7 separate regions of the Homo sapiens genome follow, and all the other regions are linked to region 1. The links are contacts of gene promoters, found by promoter capture Hi-C in blood cells and fetal thymus (Javierre and others, 2016). All regions are on one chromosome and are shown on one strand. Each heading gives the region's core, a stretch centred on a gene start or on the middle of the fragment in contact. The rest is flanking DNA. Distances are from core to core; before and after follow the strand shown. Region 1 holds the start of ZFAND5 (zinc finger AN1-type containing 5). Region 2 has its middle 25 kb from the start of ANXA1. Region 3 overlaps ANXA1 (annexin A1). Region 4 overlaps CEMIP2 (cell migration inducing hyaluronidase 2). Region 5 overlaps LOC105376081 (a long non-coding RNA gene). Region 6 has its middle 31 kb from the start of ANXA1. Region 7 has its middle 12 kb from the start of ANXA1.

Region 1 (3,136 bases), core at 387-2,886:
AGTAGAATTGACTTTTAAAGGCTCCTTTTCAGGGCCTGGGAGATAGAAAACAGGAGACAACTACAAAGAATCCTTAATTTTTTAGGGGGGTGTGGGGAAACATTTTAACAAAAAACTTCAAAGATAAAATTGCAGTATTTTCACCAACTGAGTTCTGAAAGCCTACTCTTTAAAAAAAATCCTAAAAATAAGGAATAAAATACATTCGTTTATGTTTTTAGAAGTCTGTATCTAAATCCCAGGTTTAAGAACGGGGATGTGTGACCTATATGTTCCTTTATCTTGGTATCTCCTTAGATGCTATCCCTTAGGAGACACTCAATCAATAAAGATAATCCGACCCTTCCCCGAAAACACACCTCCACGGAGTGCGTGGAAAGCGAGCAAAAAATTTCACATTCATCAGCCTAAATGCACCAAACAAAGGAGGTGTTCCATTTCCTCCATGAAAACGGATCTCAGGATAAAAACGCAGCGACGTCGAGAAGCCCAAAAGACGACGCCGAGAACCCCCGGCCCCATGTTCCAATGGATTTTGGAACAAGTTCGGGTCCCACTGATACCCCATCCCCCTCTAAGCAAAGGCCTCACTCAATAAAGCCCAACAGGGCCCTCTCCGAAAACCACTGAGTCATGCAGAACAGCAGCTCAGCAGGCCCGGCCAGCCCTTCGCCTGCAGGCCCCACGCGGATCCCCGACCCCCGACCCCCGACCCCGAACGGCTCCTCTTAGGGGAGAGCTAGGGGGGGCTGCAACGGGCAGGGGGCGCGGCCGCCGCCTCGGCCTCTTTGTTTCTCTGGGTCGTGGTGCCCACGCCGGGCGCCGCCGCGGAGGCGAGCGGCCTAGAGGCCGGCCCCGCAGAGGCGGCACGCCGTGCATTGTTTCCCGACCGTGCTGTGGAGCGAGCCAGGGACGCCGGGAGCCAGGTCTCGGGCCACGACGACAGGATGACGCCTCCGTCTTTGTGCTTCCTGGGCTGGCGGGCGGGCTCCCCTCCCCCGGACGCCGCCATCCGCGGCCTGCTCCGGCTTCGCCATTGGCCCGCGGCGCCCCGGTCCCTTCACTCCCGCCCCCGGCCCGGCAACAAGGAGCCCGGCTCCCACCCGCAGCCCCGTATCACTCACCCTGCAGGGTCCCAAATGCGAAAGCCGGGTTCGCGCGCGAAGCCGGCACGATGAGGCCGGGCCGAGGCCTCCGGGAAGGCTGAGCCGGGCGCCCTGGTGCCGCCGCCGCGGGCCGGGAGCGGGTCGGAGCAGCAGGCGGAGGTGGCGCCGCCGCCGCCGCGGGGTCTTCCTTTGTTCCTGCAGCAGCGTCGAGCGTGGCCGGGACACGCCGGAGCTCGGGAAGTGGGAGGAGGGAAGCGAGGGGGGGCCGAGGAGGAGGTGGAGGGAGGACCGGCGGCCGCAGCGGCTAACGCTGCTCGAGGCGCTCGCCTGTCGTCGCCTCACGCCTCCACAGGCCGCAGGTTGGGCGGACGAGGAGGGCGAGCGGACCGCGCGCCGCGAGGCCTGGGGCCGTAAGGGCCCGCTGATGGCGCTCTTCGCCGCTCCTGCCACCGCCGGGGAAGCTGCGCGGCTCCCGGGAGCGAGCGAGCCCGCGTAGGAGATGCACACAGCTCCGCGTCCCGGCCGACTAACGCACTCGCCGCCCGGCGCCCGGGCTGTGAGGGAAAAGAGGGGGAGGGGGCGGGACCCGTGCGTCAGCGAAAACCCCGGCGGCGGCGGCGGCGGCGGGGAGCGCGGTGACGTCGCGGGCCCAAGGCCACGCCCCCGGTGCCCTGTCAGTAGGTCCAGGAGGCGGGGCCGAGACGGGTTGCTGTGCCTTCTCGCGGAGCCCAGCCACTGGCCTGGCAGTCGGCCCCTAGGGTGGAGCTGGGAAGAGCGAGTCCTGTGGAGGATGCGTTTCTATTTTTAACCCAATTGTCCGCCCTCAGCCTCCCTCCTTCGGATTTTCTCATTCAAACCCGTTTTTCGCCATCCTAGTTCTCACGCTTTGTCTCCAGCCCTGGGCAGACATTCCCTCCCCCAAGAATCGTAAGGATTCACCCCCAGAAAAGGAAAAGAATTGCCTTATGGCTTCGAGGTCTTTTCTGTTTATGAAACCTCCTCACTCCCCACACCCATTTTGAGCTCCGAAGTCCAGCCCGAGCGTGGCCCTGACGCAGCTGGCGGCGTGCGTTCGCTCGCCCAAGGTCACGGGTGGTTGTGCGGAGTGAGGAAACGCGCGGCCGCCCAGGGCTGCCAATGCCCCGGCGGCGCTGTTCTGAACAAACTGTTTTGGCCAGCCTGTGAAATCCCTGGAAATTGACGATTCCAGCAAAGCGTCGTGAACTGGGAAAGCACCAAATGTTCTACTCAAAAGCCGCGAAGGGACAAAACAAGCTAGACCCGAGGCCCAGATGAAGCGGGAGGAGGAGGCTTGCGAGAGGAAGTTCAAGGGGGGAGGTACTAGGCGGGCAGTTCAGGCACGAGGCACAGGTCCCCCATGGGTGAAAGGATGACTTTACCCGGAACACTGGGAACCTTTTCAGAGCACAAACAAAAAACATTTTCAACTGACCGCTCCAAGTGAATTTCAGTTCAACTCAAAATAACAAAATTACTAAGTCGGAAAGGACTTCTGAAATTTTCTAGTAAACAACGGTCTAACGAATACATAGAAATGATGTTTAGGGTTTATATTAGCCACATATAGAATGGAGAAGAGGTCCCTTCAGTGTTTCTCAAAGTTGGTAATCAGAAAAAAAATCACCTGGGGTGATTAAAGATTCCTACGCATCTCCCCTGGATATGGTTTTGGTTGTTCCGGGGTGGGAGCGGGGGTGGGGGGGGGCCCATATTGCGCTTCAGGTGGTCCTTATTTATAATCTGTATTTGGGGGAATGCTATACTGATAGCTTGAGCCACCACTGCCAAATCAAACAGTTCTCCGCCACAGTTAGCAAAGTACCTGGAGCATAACAACCTTTTGTTTTGTTTTTTAACAAATTCGGGTTTATTACTGTGATCAATTAATGTATTAGAGATTTAAGTAGTTTGGGTCACTGGTCCCACGACCACTGCAATTTATTTCCTTAAATTAGCAGATGAATTAGTAAAAAAAAAAAAAAAATAGCAGCTACCATTTACAGGCCATT
Region 2 (3,176 bases), core at 647-3,146, 810 kb after region 1:
GGTGACCATGAAGGGACTATACTGAAGAGACCCCTGACCTGAAGGAAATAGATTGCAGCACCAACTTTGAGAAAGTGGTGGGGTACATTTTACCCCAGTAAAGGATGATGTTGGGTTAGAGGCCCAACTTAGGAGAGTCTCTCCTAAGACAAAGAAGGTTAAAATTCCCCCCACCCCACTTTTTTTTTTTGAGACGGAGTTTCGCTCTTGTTGTCCAGGCTGTGCAACCTCTGCTTCCCAGGTTCAAGCCATTCTCATGCTTCCGCCTCCCGAGTAGCTGGGATTACAGGCATGTGCTACCACACCCAGCTAATTTTTGTATTTTTTAGTAGAGACGGGGCTTCACCAGGTTGGTCAGGCTGGTGGAACTCCTGACCTCAGGTGATCCACCCACCTCGGCCTCCAAAAGTGCTGGAATTACAGGCGTGAATAAAAGGCAAGGACGCTTGACCAAACTTGGGTTTGAGGACCAGCATAGGAAGGTTAGAGTGCTTCCTAAAATGTAGGGGGTTAGAGGCCCCTCTCAGTAAAGTCTCTCTTTGTTAAAAATGGATTTGGCACTATGGGATGTTAACCACTATTCTCTGTGGATTAATCTGCCTTGCACTGTTTGCTGATGGCTATGGGTGAAAGGATTAGGCGTGTACAGGATCATGGGACATGGGGAGCTTTTTCCTCCCCAAAGGGGGAAACTTGAGAGCTGATAGGACCCCTGGAAAAGATCCCTTCACAACTGTCAAGCGACCGCCTGAACTTTTGATTCAGTGTTGCTACAATGGGTGGGTCTTTCTCTGGCCTTCCTGAGCTACTTGCCTTCCCTACCTCATCACAGGCTATGCTTTTCTCTCTCTTTCTCTCCTTTCCCTTTCCTATCTTTTCTTTTACTCAGGGCAGCCATCTTTCCCAGAGACCACGTGTTGAAACTTCTTTAATCCACTTTGAATGGATTAAAGATGACAGAGCCTTACCAGGGGCAAGTGTGAGCCTTGCCAGTTCAATACTGGCACTAAGCTGAGTGACTAATGTCTATATTTTGTCACACGTATTTTGCTCTGCCCAGATGGCAAATGTTAATGTGGTTACCCCATGCAACCCCTTGGGTGGCACCTTACAATACTGAGAAGCTTTTGTTTGTGATTCCACAAAATGCCAGTCTCCTTAGTCACTCAGCTTAGTGCCAGTAGGGCGTGGCTTCCCCCCCAGCTCTCCATCTTCTTTGGGCGGCATACTTTTCAGCACTCTCTGTATTCCCCTGCACTGGCCTTCTACAAGCCTTACTCTGTCTATGCTTCCTCCTGTCTCAAGGGCTTTGGACTTCCTCAGCCTAAACACTATATTTTTCTCATTTCATTCTTGTTAACTTTGCTAATTCTTCAAATATCAGCTCAAATATCTCATAGACCCTTTTAACACTACATATCTCTGTACTATATTAAATGCCAGAGTTGTAATTTTATATTTAAGCGATTATTTAGTTAATATTTGTCACTTCTTCTAGAATATGAACAGGTTGTTTGCATAGACTATTTCTTTTCTTTCTTCTTTTTTTTTGCCTTTTATTGTTGTATTGCTATTGTCTGGTACAATAGCTAGCACTTAGTAAAATTATGACAAAAAATGATAGCTTGTGCTATTACAGGTTAGCTCAAAGTGCTTATTCTTTATGCTAAGGCATTTGGTGGACATCAAGAATTATACTCGAATACCAAGGATACAAGACTGGAGCACTGCTGTGTCATACGGTCTCTCTAGCTCTCTTTTCTTGGTTAGTCCAACATGTTGGGGAAAAGATCCATTCTAGAGAAGACACCAGGGCCACAACTGCAGCAGGAAAGTTGCTTTACCTCAAGGACTAGCATGCTTCTGTAAAATCTCTTAGGGATGGAGTGGTTCTACCATTTCAAAATAGCCCTAATTGACAGGGAGCATTTGTTTTCAGCATTTTGCTTTTTTGCTAATCATAAGATGAGCTGAATGAACATCATTGCTAAACTCTATTGAAGGTCTGAGCATAGACAAGATCCAGACTGATGTGAGACAGATTGAGAGCAAAATAGGACCTGAAAGATCGGGAAAGCACCATGGGAGCATCATGGACACAGCTTTCTTCTGGTCCCCTGGAATGTCCCTTTTACATTCACTTGAACACTGGGTTTAAAGAATCACTAATCTAACACTACTATTTCTAAAACTCCTTCAATAATGTATGTGTTACCTATATCTGCTGTTTGGTCTACGTTCCTTCATTCTTCCACATTCACAAACCAAAGATTAGGCTTTCTTGACTTTCTGTAAATTGAAAGTTGTATTGTTATTTATGTATTCATTGTGACACACAAAGAGCTCTGGGAATGAATGTTAACTAAGCAAAGCTGTTTCACCCTCTATTTGTTGAATGAAATTTGTCTTTTGTTTTTTTTAATCTAGTGACACCTAATTGCAACCTGTATTGTCTTTTAATTTATAGAAACATGAATACTTTTATGAAAACATTCAAAATGCTTTCTTATAGGACATCTGATAATTTGAGAAAATAATTTAGGTACTTAGCCAAAAATTTTATACAGTTCTAAAAGTGATGACTAAGTGGCACCTTAAACTAATCCTTTTACTCAGAAACAGAACTAGGTGATTATGTGAGTATGCTGATACGAATCAATAGGCCTCTAAAAGCTTAAATGTGAGGAATAGCAGTTGAGTCCTTGGTTGCAAGCAAGAGAAACTGATGAGCGGACTTATGAAAGAGGAACTTATAGAAGCATCTAAGAGTGTTGGAGTAAAGGACTCAGAGTGGGTGGAGGATTGGAAGCCCAGGTTGAGAACTAGGCAAGAAATTTAGGAGTTACGAAGTACAAGAAGCAGAGGGAAACAAACGTACAGCCATTTTCTCATTGCTCACACATCCTAATCAGGAGACCACCACTCTGCTGTCACCAAGACCTCTGCAGGGAAATATATCCAAATCTATCTCTTCCTGACAGGTGGTTCTGGCTACAGGAATCACTTGCAATTGCAGTCAAATGGTGGCTGAAGCTGAAAATGGAGGATGGAGCAGCTGAGGGCTGGCCAGGCAGCTCTTTCTTTATATAATAATCTCAGGGCCTGTCCAAGGAGACTAGATTCAGCGTTCTCCCTGCATGACAGTCTCAGGGAAGTAAGCCCACTGAGGCAGCAGC
Region 3 (3,115 bases), core at 379-2,878, 790 kb after region 1:
AATAAATAAAATAAATAAATAATAAAAACATGTTTTTATAAGTGATGGAGTAGTACTTTGCCAAGTGATGAATTTTAACACTCATTTTGATGATTCTTCCTTATCAAAGCCTTGGATGAAATGATGAAAATGGAAATTTTGAGTGCCTGAAGCTGCTAGAATTGCTTTTAAAGTATTGGGTGTGCCAATTAAGAAGGTGGAATATGAAACTCCATGTGGCAACCGCAATTGCATGAAACTAGACTGTAATGGGAACTAAAACCTTGTGCAAAATTGCGGGTTGTTACTTTATCAGGAAGCAATTTTAAGTCTATCAATTATATTTAGGAAACAGGCTGCTTTAAATGAATGGAAAAAGTATTGGTTCTTCTCACAGATGACAGAATAGTAATAAGAGCAATCCCATGCGAATTAAGTGGGGATGATTTCTGCTTTGGATATTATTTTCTTCATGCATTCAGTGTTATTACTTGCAACTCCAGTTACTTTTTAGCAGGTGAAAATGGAAAGAGTTTGTCTGAACATGCTGTTGAGGAATCAGTTTATGGAATCAGTTTATGCCTCATGAGTCATTTATCTTCATATCAAGAATTTAAAACTGCCAAGATTGTCCTCCCAACCTCTCTCACAAACATTCATGAGAGTAGTCTCTAGAGGGGTGAAACAGAATGGTGTAGATAGACAGATCAGTGTAGACCTTGAGCAAGGCCTCTGAAAAACATCCCCAGACTAAAAGGATCTGTGATGGCATTTTGTGTGTGTGTGGCCAAAACAGAGAACACATTAATTTTCAATATACTTAAGATCTTAAAAATATATGTCTCATTAAATAAAAATATTGCCAAGTCATGATAGCAATTCAAGAAATTTCCTTTAAGATAGAGTTTGCCAAAAGAACATGCATGTTACAATTGCACCTCTAGGCTTCCTGCTACAACAAAAAAATCCAGTATAAAATAATTCTTTTCTGGGTTTTTTGTGTTGGGTGGGAAAATATGTAGGACTACTATTTAGACAGCTCAAATAGGAAGAAATGTGAAGATAGCAATTACTTCAATGCTGAGTACTTTTATATCAAGAAATAGAAAAGGAAACTAAATTATTCAGGGAGAAATATCACCTGGATATCTTTTTACAATTAAAATTTTAAATCTGAATTCACTTGTACAGATTGGCACAAGTTATTTTACCTTATAAATGTAATCATTGGCTGGGAGTGGTAGCTCACACCTGTAATTCCAGCACTTTGGGAGGCCGAGGCGGGCAGATCACTTGGGGTCATGAGTTCAAAATCAGCCTAGCCAACATGGTGAAAACCTGTCTCTACTAAAAATACAAAAATTAGCCGGGCGTGGTGGCTGGTGCCTGTAATCCCAGCTACTCAGGAGGCTGAGGCAGGAGAATTGCTTGAACCCAGGAGACGGAGGTTGCAGTGAGTCGAGATTTCACCACTGCACTCCAGCCTGGGCGACAGAGAAAGACTCCATCTCAAAAAAAAAAAAAAAAAAAAAAGCAATCATTAAGCTTTTCATCTAGCCATTACTTTTGTACAGGCTCTCATTAATTCCACATAGATGGTCTAATGGTCTACTAAATAGTATTCTAATCCTCCATCTTGTCTATCTCTTAGCCATTCTCCATGATAAAGGATGAATGGTCTTTCGGAAACATAAATGAAACCATGCTGCTTTAAAAAAACAAACAAACAAAAAGAAACCCATTAATGTTTTCCCAAAGCTTTGTGGACACATTGAAGCTTCTTGTTTCAGCTTCTGCCAACATTTCTCGCTCCAGCAAACTTTCTTCTGCTTCCCAAATATGACAAGCTTCTTCTTTAACTTTTCTGCCAGGTTAATCTTGACTCATTTCAAGAGAGGCTTGGGTCAGCCAGGGCCTACTCTAAGAAGTTTCTTTAGCCCTTATGTTTTCCTATGGAGAGCACACACTAGCTTTAAGTCCTGAGGGTACTTAAGATGATATTTCAATGTTTTTGTACTCTTAGTGCTTGGCATATGGTGGGTGGTCTACAAATTTAGAACAATGTAGTGAACCACAAACTCCTCTCTTCAGCCTGTGTGCTTACTTGTAGTAGTTGTCTGATCTCTAAAATTTAGAACTGAATATGCCAAGAAAGAGTTCAATTTCAGAGAGGAGGGTATGGTTTCATTTTAAGTATAAAAGCTTCCTTTAAAAAAAATTACGTCTTACATTTTGTTATGCTCCTAAGTGTAATTGATCCTGGAAAGTAAGCGCAAGGCTACTCTCTAATGCTAACTCTTATGTATGTAAGAGGTGAGGAAGGAGAGGTTGTGTGTGGTGCATTTGTTTTGTAAAAGCATCTAACTGTTTTCTTTCCAGACACTTTTTCAAAAATGGCAATGGTATCAGAATTCCTCAAGCAGGCCTGGTTTATTGAAAATGAAGAGCAGGAATATGTTGTAAGTAGAGTGATAATAAAATTATGATTACAATATTGAAATAAAAACGAATATAAGTAAATGGCCATTAATTTATTTCTCTCTCATTCTTAGCAAACTGTGAAGTCATCCAAAGGTGGTCCCGGATCAGCGGTGAGCCCCTATCCTACCTTCAATCCATCCTCGGATGTCGCTGCCTTGCATAAGGCCATAATGGTTAAAGGTAACGTGTTTCCTCAAAACAGTTCCCTCCTGGACATTTCAGAATGGCTATTTGAATGACTGTCAAAAAACAGACATGTGCAATGGAAAGAATCTGTTTCATTTTGAAGATAAAAACATTTCTTTGCCAAACGAAGATGTAATTATTTACTTAACACTGAGGAAATTGTGTTCACATCAGTGGAATCTCTATTGTTACAGCAGATATTACTGGCTCATTTCTAGCAGAAATTCCATGCTGAAATTAAAAGCTCTGTTCACATATAGAGTTGCAACTAGTATCAAACACTGCAACACTGAGGGCCAGGAAAAGTTAATTGTCTCTTCCTTTCTCACTCGAATGAAATGTCATTCTCCCAAGTGCTTCCTTGATATGTAGTATAGCATCGATTTTTTAGGCTGATATATAATTTATATTTCTTAATTTGTTAAGAAGTTCTTTTGGAGCATCTCAGTAATGAATTATTTTATGTCAA
Region 4 (2,830 bases), core at 274-2,773, 680 kb before region 1:
AATTACAAAAACACATCTATAAAGATGTTTTCTGGTCCACCCTTTGCTGTATTTTCAGATATAACATGTTCACAGCTTGCTATGGCTGATAATTTTGGATGTCCTGTGGGGCACAGTTCCTCATTTAGAAATCACAGTTCAGTCAGTCATTCTCTAAATTTACCACATAAAAATAAAAAGTGTGCGTGCCCTTATCCACAACACCAGGGCCTACTGAAGCATCCTTTTATTAGTTTTTTTCTCAAATTGAAGATAAATAAGGGAAAAACAAAAAAACCTTTTCTCTTCCAAATGACTCAAATGGTCTAGCAAGTCTGTGAACAGCATTTTGCCATTTGTGAGCAAGGAACCAGGAATGGAGTTCCTTTATTTTTTTTCCCTCCATGACCTTTTGTTGAAAACTAGCTTAAATAGTGTCTGCTCACATTTCCAGCACACTGGGTTATAACAGTAATAATGTAATCATAACTAACAGTAATGATACAAATCTGCTGCCCTATTAAAGGTCTTTACCTCCAGGGGAATTTCTCAGGTTATTAAACATTGTTTAATAAGTATCTGGAAACCAAATAAGAATTCCAGAAGTAAGCTCCAACTCTGCATGATGAAATTAACAAACATTGTCATCATTGAATCTATGTATTGTGTTTATCTACTAGGAACAACAGAAAAAAACACTTGAACTAACTAAGCTCATTCCTTCTTACTGAAATGCTTCTCAACCAGACACATCCAAACATGACCTCATCTCTTAAGGAATGAAAACCTACTGTAGTTATCTAAAGCACTCAAGCCTCGATCTGTCACTTCATTACCTTCCCCTCCTCAAGACAAAGTAACCCACTTTAATGGCATGAGGATGTGTTGTCTCTTGATGAAGTTAGAGAACAGAGGAGTCATAAATCCTCTCTTCCCATCCCCGAGTCTAAACATCAGCTTAGAGGCTGCTTTGCAGTCATAGTCCATGAGATGGTGCGTCTGCCTTTCATCTTCTTGCCAGCACTCTCTTCCAGCCTCTGAAGATAATATATGGCATGCTGACTCAGGTGGAGAGGCAGGAATCACAGCAAAGACTTAAACCCTAGTCTGTGGATACATGAGAGCCCTCTGTGTTGCTCGTCAGCTGGCTGATTTGTGGACGACCACATTTTTGGAGCTCAACCAACTGCCTCACCTGATGGAAAATGCTTATGAACTTATAAATCACCTTTGAATATATTTTCTTGGTAGAAATAGAACAGATTGCTAGCTCCCAATTCCCTGAAATGTATATATCAGTGTATAGAACCAATTTAATGATTTGAGAGGACTGAGGACTAAAAACTGTATTAAAAGCTTCTATTAAAAAGAGACAATAGAGAAATGCTTTGTTTAGGGCTGGGAGTTTTGTGAGTAATATAGGAAATGCAAATAAAAATAATAGGTAAATGCAATTTTGTTTTAGTCACAAAAAAATTACAGACTGGAGTTAAACAGTGGGCCTATTATATTAGTGCCGTGGTTCCGAAACCTGGCTGCATATTAGAATCATCCAGGGAGCTTTAAAAAAAATTCCAGTGCTCAGGCTGCACCCAACACCAATTAAATCTGAATCTGGGGGGAAGGGAGTAAAGTCCAGGCCTCTATATTTTTTTTTAAAGCTCCTCAGGTAATTCCAGTGTGCAGCCAAGATGGAGAACCTCTGCCTTGGAGAATACAGTCCCTGCCCTTCTGAAGCTTACTCTTACAATATTTACTTGGTGGATTCTGTCCACCAAGTGTCTTCCTCACTTCCGTCAGTAACTTCTTTACAGCTGGAATCTGGAATTTTAAATTTATAGATAGAGATATAAATTCACATACAGGCCAGGCGCGGTGGCTCATGCCTGTAATGCTAGCACTTTGGGAGGCCAAAGCAGGAGTATCACTTGAGGTCAGGAGTTCAAGACCAGCCTGGCCAACACGGTGAAACCCCACTTCTACTAAAAATACAAAAATTAGCAGTGCATGGTGGCGGGTGCCTGTAATCCCAGCTACTTGGGAGGCTGAGGCAGGAGAATCACTTGAACCTGGGAGGTGGAGGTTGCAGCGAGCTGAGACTGCATCACCTCACTCCAGCCTGGGTGACAGAGCGAGACTCCATCTCAAAAATAATAACAATAATAATAAAATAAATAATAAATAAATTCACATACACACATATATAAAATACATGCACACATATTTTTATTTAACTTAGGCCCTGATTATTAGTATATAAAACAGAAAAACCAAGTGCCTTGGTAATTTACATATCTTCTCCAAATCTTTAAAGAACCAAGCTCTAAAAAACACACGTAAAGATATTTAAGTCATAAAACACACACACACACACACACACACACACACACTCTAATGACCTTCAGGAACCATAATCCAATAATATATTTAATAGGTAAGATCTCATTCATCAATATACAAAAAAAAAAAACAAACCAGAAAACAAAAAACTAACTTTGATTAAGACATGTGCCCTTAGTAAGGGCACTTACAATTAGAAAGGTTTATCGGTAGCACTTTGAGGTAGCATATTTTGTAAAGTCACAGGGCTGCTCTGCAGTTTCTCCTGGATACAAAGGTAGAGGCCATCAGCCTTTGCCCCTAGAAGAGGAAAGTGAAATTATCTGTACTCATTGCCAGTGTCAGCCTGAACACACTTTCTACCACCCACCCTTGGCCATCCCTCCTCTACACTTTATGCGTCGGGGGTTTAGAACAACGTAAAGGCATTTTGCTGCTTCTTTCCTCTTGGTACGGCAGCATCCCAGGCTGTGGAGCCAGTTGCCTCTTGCCGCATGTGATTCACCAGCAG
Region 5 (2,803 bases), core at 270-2,769, 740 kb after region 1:
TTGTTTCTTCACACACACACACATACACACACACATTTTAAGATACTTTTCCATTGTATTCTTTCCCTAGATCTTGGCTAGCCACAAGTATCATGAAAACATTATATATACATACGCACACACACACAACACATATATATATACACATATAAATATATATGTAAAATTATTTCAGGTTCTGAGGGCTTTCAAAATACTACTCAAAGTTTTTATGAAGTTAATGATGGTTTTATTTCATTTGCTACATTATTCCTCTGCTGTTCACCCTAAAATTAGGTCTGGTTATTACCACTCAAGATCATGTTTTATCTTAATTATAATCATTGATTCAATAAAACTTTAAATTGCAATATACATGTCAGGCCATTTTCTACAAAAGTCAGAGGGAATAGTCTCCTCTTTCAATGATACAGCATCTATAGTTTTGAATATTCTCAAGCTAAGGCACAATATGAATCTAGTGAGTTACTTATCTAGAAAATGTGCTTTATCTAAAAGTCAGAATCTATATCTCAACATGACATTGTGAAGTGCTTCTTAAATCTTCATGAGTCAAAAAAAAAAAAGACCCATAAAAGAAAATGGCAAATATGCATTTTGGTATCTATGAAATAAATGTCTTCAAATATATTCCTTCTGGATGTCAATCAACATGGTCGTTTCAGTTTGTTAATGGACTGCCTTGTGCATCAGAAACTCAAATATCCGAAGGATATTTACTTGAAGGTAACCAGATTAATGTTATTAAGAGTTATTTTAGTTATTCTAAAGCCATGAGAAAAGATTACATTTGTAAGCTTGTTTTTATTCTCTTGTTCTGTTTCTACATCCAAATCCCAGGACATCATCTTCCCTGGGGATACTGTTGCATTTGGATGGCTATGTGCAAGTTTTAAATTTTCCTGGACTTTTTCCAGCTCCACCATAATTTCTTTCAGTTCTTGGGCAGCTGATATAAGAGGAAGAATCGGGAAGAAACTTATAAGAAATTTTCATTAAAAAAGCATTGTTAATATTTCATGAATAAAAAATTATAGAATTTAGTTTACAAACAGCATTGATCCAATGTGTATTTATTAATTTGCTTATACATCGTTCCACTCTCATTCATTCAATATTTATTGAATATTTACTACACGATGAACACTTAGTTTAGAATAAAAAATGCAGTGATGAACAAAAGACTCAGTGTGTCTGATAAAGTTTATATTCTAGTGAAAAAGGATAGAAGCAAATGACTGAACACATATGTTAAAAAATTGAAAGATTGTAATAAATATTAGCAAAGATGTAAATAGAGTACTGTGCGTATACATTACTGGGGAGATCTGATTAGGTAAGGTTGGTTAGAGGAGTTTTCTCAGTGGGAACAACTTTTGAAGTGAATCTTGAAGAATGAATAGAAGTTGACCATGCTGAAAATGAGAAGGTGAGTGTGAGAGAGAATGCTTCAGATGAGAGAACAGAAAGCTAAAAGGCCCTGATGGAAGAAATACGTTGATAATATCTTGCAACTTATGAGCTAGTGTGACAAGATCTCAGTGAGTAAAAGAGAGAGGCTCAGGCAGTATGACAGGGCCTGGATCAGGCAACTTAGTGCCTTGTAGGAAATAATAAAGAGTATGGGTTTTACTTGCAGTCCATTGAAAGCCATTGGAGGGGTTTAGGCAGAGTTAAAGCAGATCTCTGTGACTGCTGAGTGATGAATAAATTGGTTGTGCCAAGACAGGAGCGGGGAGACCATTCAGAAGTGGTTGTAGTTTACCAGGCAGCAACTACAGATGTTGGTGACTCAGGTCAGAGTAGGGGATGTAGAGATGGATGGATTTAAGATATATTTTTGACAATTAAACTTACACTTTTAAAATTCCAAATAAAAGAAGAATCAAGAATGAATGACTGTAAAATATTTGGGCTTAGTAAATACGTAATATCCATACTCTAATTTTTAGATGGATAAATTAAATTTTACCTCATAACAATAAAAAGGTACTCATATTTGAAGGACTAATTATTTTTCTGATTAATCTTCCCACAGTGATATATTATGACATAGTTCCCTACATTTAGAGTTCCTGGAACTATACAAGGAAAAACATAAGGAAGCAAAGCATATGAGAGTCACACCTACTATTACTATTTACTGGCCATCTATTGCATTTGTAACTTGTCATGCCCCTTCTTCTCAGGATCTTTTGTTAAGTTACTTTATTATATATGATTTACATGCCCCCCAAAACTGCAAGCTTTTAAAGTATACAATTCAACTAATTTTAATAGACCAATATATCCATAAAACCACCACCACACACAATGTATGAATTATTTTAATTAACCCCAAGTTTCTTGTGCTTCTTTGCACATTAAGATCCCACAAGAAAATGTTGTATGTATATAGTCACATGTATTTTTTTTAAATTCAGAGAAAAAATAATATTTTAAATTTACCCAGATATTTATCATTTATAATGATTTTTTCTTTCTTCCTTAATATATGAATTTTTCTCTACTACCTACTTTTTCTTCATCCTCAGAACTTTCTTTCAGCATCTCTCCTGGTGCATGTACAAGGACAATACATTCTCTTAGTTTTCTGATATCTGAAACATGTACTATTTTGCCTTCACTTATGAGGGATTTTTTGCTGGACATGGAATTCTGGGTTGTCAATTATTTTTTCTTTCAGTACTTAATTTTCCCACCTTTCCAATTTATAAATATTTTTAAAGATTTTCCATGAACTTGAATTGTGTTCCCTTCTGTGTGATGTATTGTTGTTCTTTGTTCCGCTTACTTTCATGAT
Region 6 (3,081 bases), core at 361-2,860, 760 kb after region 1:
ACCCACATTCTTAAACTACATTTAAAAACAGAGTTACAGTTACAGGATCACCTTCATCAGAGCCAATAGGTAAAACAATAGAAATTATATTGTAAAAATAGGAAATTTTAAGTTAACATTTCCCTCATAGTAGAAAACATATGTTTTACAAACTATGTCATCACTGGAATATGATAAAATGATACAGCAGTTCCTTCCCACATTTTCATATGAATCATTCATATAACGTAACCTTTCTCCCAGTCTTCCAGTTGCAGGTCAGGGCAAGGGCGCCCTTTCTCACTCTGGAAACTGCTTGATCATTGGAGCAGCACCTTAGGTAGCTGAATGACTCAGGATTGCCTAGGGGATTCGAGGATTAGACAGCTTAAATGTATCCTGGTTAATTCTTGATTTGAATTATTCCAATTGTTGGTTTTCATTAATGGGTAGGAAAATCTTTTTCTGGAAACTTTTCAACCCAGTAATGTGAGCTTCAAGATCCTGATAATATGAGTGGATTTTCTAGCACCTACATTAAACTCAGATTGCACAATCAAGTTTTCACTTAAATGTAAAAGAACCCAGAGACAATGTTGAGGAGATGGAGCCTATTTTTTCCAATGCATTACTACATATTTAATACTCTGATAAAACTGCTGGGTTTCTTTCTCATATCAATATATGTCAAACCAATGTGTTATATGTATTACAAGATTCAATGTGCTCCATGTTCCTCCGTTATCCTTGATTTTCTCTTCAAATACTTACTTCAAGAGGAGTTATTCATTTAGAAAGACCATCCTGGCTAACACGGTGAAACCCCGTCTCTACTAAAAATACAACAAAATTAGCCAGGCGTGGTGGCGGTCGCCTGTAGTCCCAGCTACTCGGGAGGCTGAGGCAGGAGAATGGCGTGAACCCAGGAGATGGAGCTGGCGGTGAGCCAAGATCGCGCCACTGCACTCCAGCCTCGGCGACAGAGCGAGGTTCCATCTCAAGAAAAAAAAAAAAAAATTGAAACACTCTGAAAAGATCTAATGAAATTGCAGGTAGGGTAGATGTACAATATTTAGGGTCAAATAAACAGCCTTCTTTGGCAGAATGATTTTAAAATTTTTTTCATAGTTGAAGCACCATAAGTATGATTCATAAATATACTAAATAGAAATACCTTTAGTGAAAAGAATATTGAGCTTCATGGGCTATGACTTAGGTTAATTGAAGTATCATCCAGGATTCCAACAGAATAAGGAATGACATACTGAAACAGGATAATTGATGAGATTTCTATAGAGAGAATTTCTTAAAGGTATGGGATGGGGTTTTTCCAAAAACAATGAAGAACAGTACTGTGTCCAAGGACTAGTGCTAGCAAGGAGCTATTACTAACCACAGGCCGGAAAGACCAGGGAAAGAACAGTTATCATAGCCCAGAGAGAGCAGCTATATGGAGAAGGCCATTCAACTAAAATCTCCAAATCTCCTGCTTGTGCCTTCCTTTGGCCAAACTCAACAGGAGGTTAGAGAGAAAGGAAGCCATCAAGGTAGCCCCTAAATATCAATTCTCCAGAATACACAGCAGGGTAAAAAATTGTGTAGAGTCAATTTGAGAAAGGAGGAAAAACAGAAACATCTAGCAAATTATACAATTAAAACAGTTAAATGGCATGGTTGATTTTTGGCTAAGCTGGACTCCATGCGCCCCTCTTATCAGACAGCATTTCTTCTCTTCTTGTTTACCCATAGGCTCATACATTCGACATTGTTTTCATTTACTGATATATGTGAATGCTTTCTTGGGGAAGAAGAAACATATTTTGGAGGTTGGCAGGAGGACCTTAAGTAGTAAAACAAATCAAAGTTGGAATAATGTCTATCTCTTACATGGTTCATTGGATTCATTTTGAGACAACATGGAGAAGTCAGTAAGATACAGTGAGAAACCAGGGGATGAATATAAAGAGATTTCAGAGCCCACGTGTAAAAATGAGGAGTTGAGGTAAACTGTTTTCCCTATCTCTGCATGGAATCCAGGAATATTTTGGCAACTCCAAGACTGGAAGCTACGAAAGCATCTGGAAACAATACTATTGGCACAACTATTGAACTCATGATGATGAGTGGCAATGGTAAGGCTTTCTCAAAGGTCTTCATGAATAGTAGAATTAAACCACAAATGAGACCTGGTGGAAAGAAACACCAGGACAGACATAGTGGCATGTTGGTAATATTTAACAACCCCTCACCAAGGTTAGGGAAAAGCCCTAGCTTGTCATGTTTTCTACCACAGCCAATTTCAAGTTACCAACAATCACTGAGCTTGGATTTGGGGATTTGGGAAGAAATGTGCACAACTGGATCTGCTGAGCTGCTAGGAAGCCACTCTAGCACAGTACTGGCTACAGGCCCCATATCCTTATTGTAGCCGAAAACTGACTTCGAGTACATATGAGATGCTTTTTAAGTGACCATGCACTTTCATGGGCATTACTTTCTACCAGTCAAGTGGTGGTTGCTGTCATGACTTAGCAATAAAAATAATATACTACTTAATCAATTTCCCAATTGTCTCATATCAATCTGATCTGAGGTATTTGGGCAACTTAAATTATATGTCATAATTCTAAGAATTTATAAAGGTATGCTGATGGCCTTTATGTGTAAAATAAAAAAGAATACAAATGGGATGGAGCAATACAGTGTCTAACACAAGGTCATATGGACCCTGTATATTTGTTTCTTTTGCTACTTTGCAACCACCAATATTTCTCCTGCTTTGACTTGGGTTGTTTCCCTTTTGAGTTTGCTTTAGTGACTCTCTCTTCCTTACTTAACATAATTGTTTCCTTAACTTCTCCGGAATTTTTTTCAAGGTAGTGGGTGACTGTTCATGCCTGGTTTGACTCAACAGTGGCTTCTGAATTTGCATAAGTAAGGGAATATGAATTGTTCTAGCTCCATCTTCTCTTTCCTGGTTGTAACATTCCCAGCTTCAAATAGACTCATACCTGCCTTTGTATCCCCTCAGATTATTGCTAGTCAGCTGTGCCCTCTGATTCTGCCACCTGACAGGTTCTTGAAACTTCCTGGCAGTCTGCT
Region 7 (3,030 bases), core at 203-2,702, 780 kb after region 1:
AAGTTTCTAAGAATATGGAAGCATTAAATATTAATATAAATAAGAATAAGGTTACTCAAAAAACTGAATGAGAAAGTTAAGAAATATATCATGTGAGTTGCAACTGGGCTTTCATAAATGCAAAAATTTATAGAAAAATGAGAGGACCATATTTACTGGGAACAGGATGAGCAATTGTGCATAAATGAGAGTCAAGAGCATTTTGAAAATTGTAGAGAAACTGGTTTCATTAGGCTGAGGATATATGTGAAGCTGAGGGTACAGAATGGGAAGGGAAAAGACAAGTCATCACCATTTTAGCCTTAACTGCAAATTGAAAAGGAAGAAAGAAATTAAATATGCTGTCTTCCCATTTTTAGTTCTGTTTAGATACTAAGACACGTGAAGAAACTTTTATTTGTACTTTATGAATTTTGTGTTCTGTGTTCTTAGAAATGATGGAAATAGTTACTCCCTGTACCTGGAAAACATGATTTCATTTGAAAATAGGTACAGAGCTAGGAAAACAGGCTCCTAAAGAACATGGTGTTTGCTTAAACTGACAAATTAGAAGTAGGAAAGATTTTATTGTTTTGCTATACATATTTTTATGTACATTTTCAGCATTGATAGAATACATGCACACACATACATACATCCAGTTTTAGGTAGAACCATAATTCTGAAATCATAATTCCCTTTATACCAGTGCAATGGATATATGTGAAAGAGAATCATTATTTCAGGCAGCAAAAAAATAATAAGACAAGATCAACTATTAGGAGAGAAAGAAGATTTTAATATTGATTTAAATTGGAGGATATTGATTAATGTTCTCAGTAATATGTGAAAAGAAAGAAAAGCAAGGTGCCAGTCTTCATAGAAAGAATACATTATATTTTAATGGAACAATGTCTTCCTGATTTCTTAAAATGAATGTTTTTGATTTAGATTTTGTTTTTCTCTTGAAGAAAATATAAATGTAATATTGCATACCGATCTGCCAAGGCTTAGGGCAATTTCGTTCTATTGTCTAAAACCTGAATCAAACCTTCTTTTGGAGCCATCAATGACATATATATTGGTTAGAGTTATAACCAAAAAGTGATTTGAATTAATACCTTCGGTAAATACACTATTGACTTAAGTGTAGATTATAAGAACTCCGCTGAACATAAATCTCAGTTTCCAGATGAGAAATGGTCCTTTTCCTAAGCGTAAAAAAATGGACATTCCCAAGTACTCTCTGTCTCTATATACTTTATGTCTCTATGGACCTTCTAGAACTTTGAGGTAGATTGCAACCTTTAATTGGACACTCCTCATCTTCTCTGACTACAAATGGACCTCCAAACTAAGCAGTAAACTGGTAGAGACTGGAGAAATCTTCAAAACCAGTCACGAAATTTCCAACTGAACATAATTTTAATAAGTTCTCCTCTCAAATTTGCTACCTTTGGGGGGCTATCTAGTTGAATGTACATTTTATGGAAGGTCATAAAAATTCAGATCTAATCTTTATTTTGTTTCTGATTCTCAGTAGCCATAGTTATTCAAAGAAGCACACCTTATTCAAAGTCCATCAATCTAGCCCAAATGGTATTTTACATTATGTTATGATTGAGCTGGGCTTTAAAAAGTACCTGGCAGTCAACCATGACAAAATGAGAAATTTATATAATGGGACTTCATAAATAGTGAAGTGCTATACAAATGAAAAGGGCTATGTTCAGCGTTAACAAAAATGAAAGACTCACAAAAAGATCACATTCATGGTTGTACATTGTCATAAAATAAACTATGGTTGCCTAACTTCATGATATTTCATATAGAATAGGTATAAATGAAACAAAATGAGGATTTATGAGCATTATAAAAAGATAGGCCTTATTTATATTTTCAAATTTTGTCATGTTATAGTTGATTATGACAAGTAGTTACATGATTCACCACTTTTGCAAAAACATCACATGCATAAAGAATTAAGCCAATTACTTTTAGTGCTGGAATAGTCGTGAGGTGGTATTTATGCTGATAGTAAGATTTTTTTTTTAGATTAAGTCAGTACCAACAAAAGACTTTATTCTGTGTCTGTTGCTACCCAATGGAAGTAATGTACTTACTTTTTATGTTCTTTCGAAATTCCATTTTAACCATAGTTCACTGCTTAGATTACAGAATAATGTTTTTTAGGAATACCAGGAAGAAAATATAGACAATTTATTTTAGATAAAACTTTACGGATTTGAAATCTTTTCAGATAATAAAACTGGAGATTCCAAGTAAGACAGTGAGTGGATGTCATTTCTGAAAGAATGTTGTCGACTTCCATTATTTTGTCTAAGAAGTATTCCTCCCTGATGTTAAGAACAGCCTTATCTTCTTCTAGGTAAAACAAATCACGTGGTTCTATTGAGGTCTTCCCATCACAATCATCAACTCTATGTCCTCAGTGGATTGTTTTAGGTATAGACCACTGACTCAAGCTAGATCAATCAATACACATGCACAGGATTTTTACTTTAATTTTCTCAAACAGGGGAAGAAACAATGCTTGCCTCATAAAGAAGCTGCGAGATGTAAGGATAAGAATGTTGGCTGTCATGTTGCTACCATGATGAGAAAAACTAGTCTGATAAATGCAGAGATAAGAGAAAGAAAAAGAAACTTCTAGCAAGATTCAAATTCCTGGTTCCAAAAGAGTCTGAGAGCCAAGTCTAAATGTGGAGTTACAAAATATACTCCAGTAATTTTCCAGTACATTTCCCCCTTTCTGACTAAATTTGTTGCAATTCAGCTTCTATGCTAGTAACCCTGACTAATCTGGGGAATTTATATTTAAAAATACAAATCAATAATACTACTGTGAAAGGAAAATCTTGGGGCCCCCAAATTACTAAGCTAAGGGAAAAGTCAAGCTGGGAACTGCTCAGGACAAACCTTCCTCCCATTCTATTCAAGTCATCTGCTCTCTGAGATAGTTGTGTATTCTGATTGCCTCCTTTGGAAAGGCTTATCAGAAACTCGAAGAATGCAACCATTTGTTTTTCA

Evidence for each region. The method cuts DNA at HindIII sites, captures the fragments that hold promoters and counts their contacts. A CHiCAGO score of 5 or more calls a contact.
Region 2: a fragment that was not itself captured here is called in contact with the fragment with the promoter of ZFAND5 in region 1 in 1 of 17 cell types (activated CD4 T cells); the score reaches 5.6 in activated CD4 T cells.
Region 3: a contact is called between a fragment that was not itself captured here and the fragment with the promoter of ZFAND5 in region 1, in 3 of 17 cell types (total CD8 T cells, naive CD8 T cells and activated CD4 T cells). The highest score is 10.5, in total CD8 T cells.
Region 4: a fragment that was not itself captured here is called in contact with the fragment with the promoter of ZFAND5 in region 1 in 1 of 17 cell types (total CD8 T cells); the score reaches 5.9 in total CD8 T cells.
Region 5: a fragment that was not itself captured here is called in contact with the fragment with the promoter of ZFAND5 in region 1 in 1 of 17 cell types (total CD4 T cells); the score reaches 5.2 in total CD4 T cells.
Region 6: a fragment that was not itself captured here is called in contact with the fragment with the promoter of ZFAND5 in region 1 in 6 of 17 cell types (total CD4 T cells, naive CD8 T cells, neutrophils and 3 more); the score reaches 7.6 in total CD4 T cells.
Region 7: a fragment that was not itself captured here is called in contact with the fragment with the promoter of ZFAND5 in region 1 in 5 of 17 cell types (neutrophils, naive CD4 T cells, naive CD8 T cells and 2 more); the score reaches 8.1 in neutrophils.

Annotation. Positions count from the first base shown.
Region 1 is chr9:72,363,572-72,366,707 of GRCh38, forward strand. ZFAND5 (zinc finger AN1-type containing 5) reads right to left here and starts at 1,637. Exons shown (of 7, transcript NM_001102420.3): 1 at 1,125-1,637; 2 at 1-35. RefSeq lists enhancers at 640-1,343, 1,344-2,048 and silencers at 656-1,485, 1,496-1,875. The HindIII fragment of the contact is 8,298 bases long and covers 1-3,136 here.
Region 2 is chr9:73,175,600-73,178,775 of GRCh38, forward strand. No RefSeq gene overlaps it. Among named protein-coding and RNA genes, the nearest start is that of ANXA1, 25 kb to the left of the region's middle. The HindIII fragment of the contact is 1,549 bases long and covers 1,123-2,671 here.
Region 3 is chr9:73,156,164-73,159,278 of GRCh38, forward strand. ANXA1 (annexin A1) reads left to right here. Exons shown (of 13, transcript NM_000700.3): 2 at 2,359-2,438; 3 at 2,532-2,640. The coding sequence starts at 2,373. Among named protein-coding and RNA genes, the nearest start is that of ANXA1, 5.9 kb to the left of the region's middle. The HindIII fragment of the contact is 213 bases long and covers 1,523-1,735 here.
Region 4 is chr9:71,681,183-71,684,012 of GRCh38, forward strand. It overlaps CEMIP2 (cell migration inducing hyaluronidase 2), which reads right to left. Exons shown (of 24, transcript NM_013390.3): 24 at 2,184-2,830. Among named protein-coding and RNA genes, the nearest start is that of CEMIP2, 86 kb to the right of the region's middle. The HindIII fragment of the contact is 381 bases long and covers 1,334-1,714 here.
Region 5 is chr9:73,100,865-73,103,667 of GRCh38, forward strand. All of the region lies in intron 2 of LOC105376081 (a long non-coding RNA gene), which reads right to left. Among named protein-coding and RNA genes, the nearest start is that of ANXA1, 50 kb to the right of the region's middle. The HindIII fragment of the contact is 1,449 bases long and covers 796-2,244 here.
Region 6 is chr9:73,118,829-73,121,909 of GRCh38, forward strand. No RefSeq gene overlaps it. Among named protein-coding and RNA genes, the nearest start is that of ANXA1, 31 kb to the right of the region's middle. The HindIII fragment of the contact is 5,368 bases long and covers 1-3,081 here.
Region 7 is chr9:73,138,825-73,141,854 of GRCh38, forward strand. No RefSeq gene overlaps it. Among named protein-coding and RNA genes, the nearest start is that of ANXA1, 12 kb to the right of the region's middle. The HindIII fragment of the contact is 5,813 bases long and covers 1-3,030 here.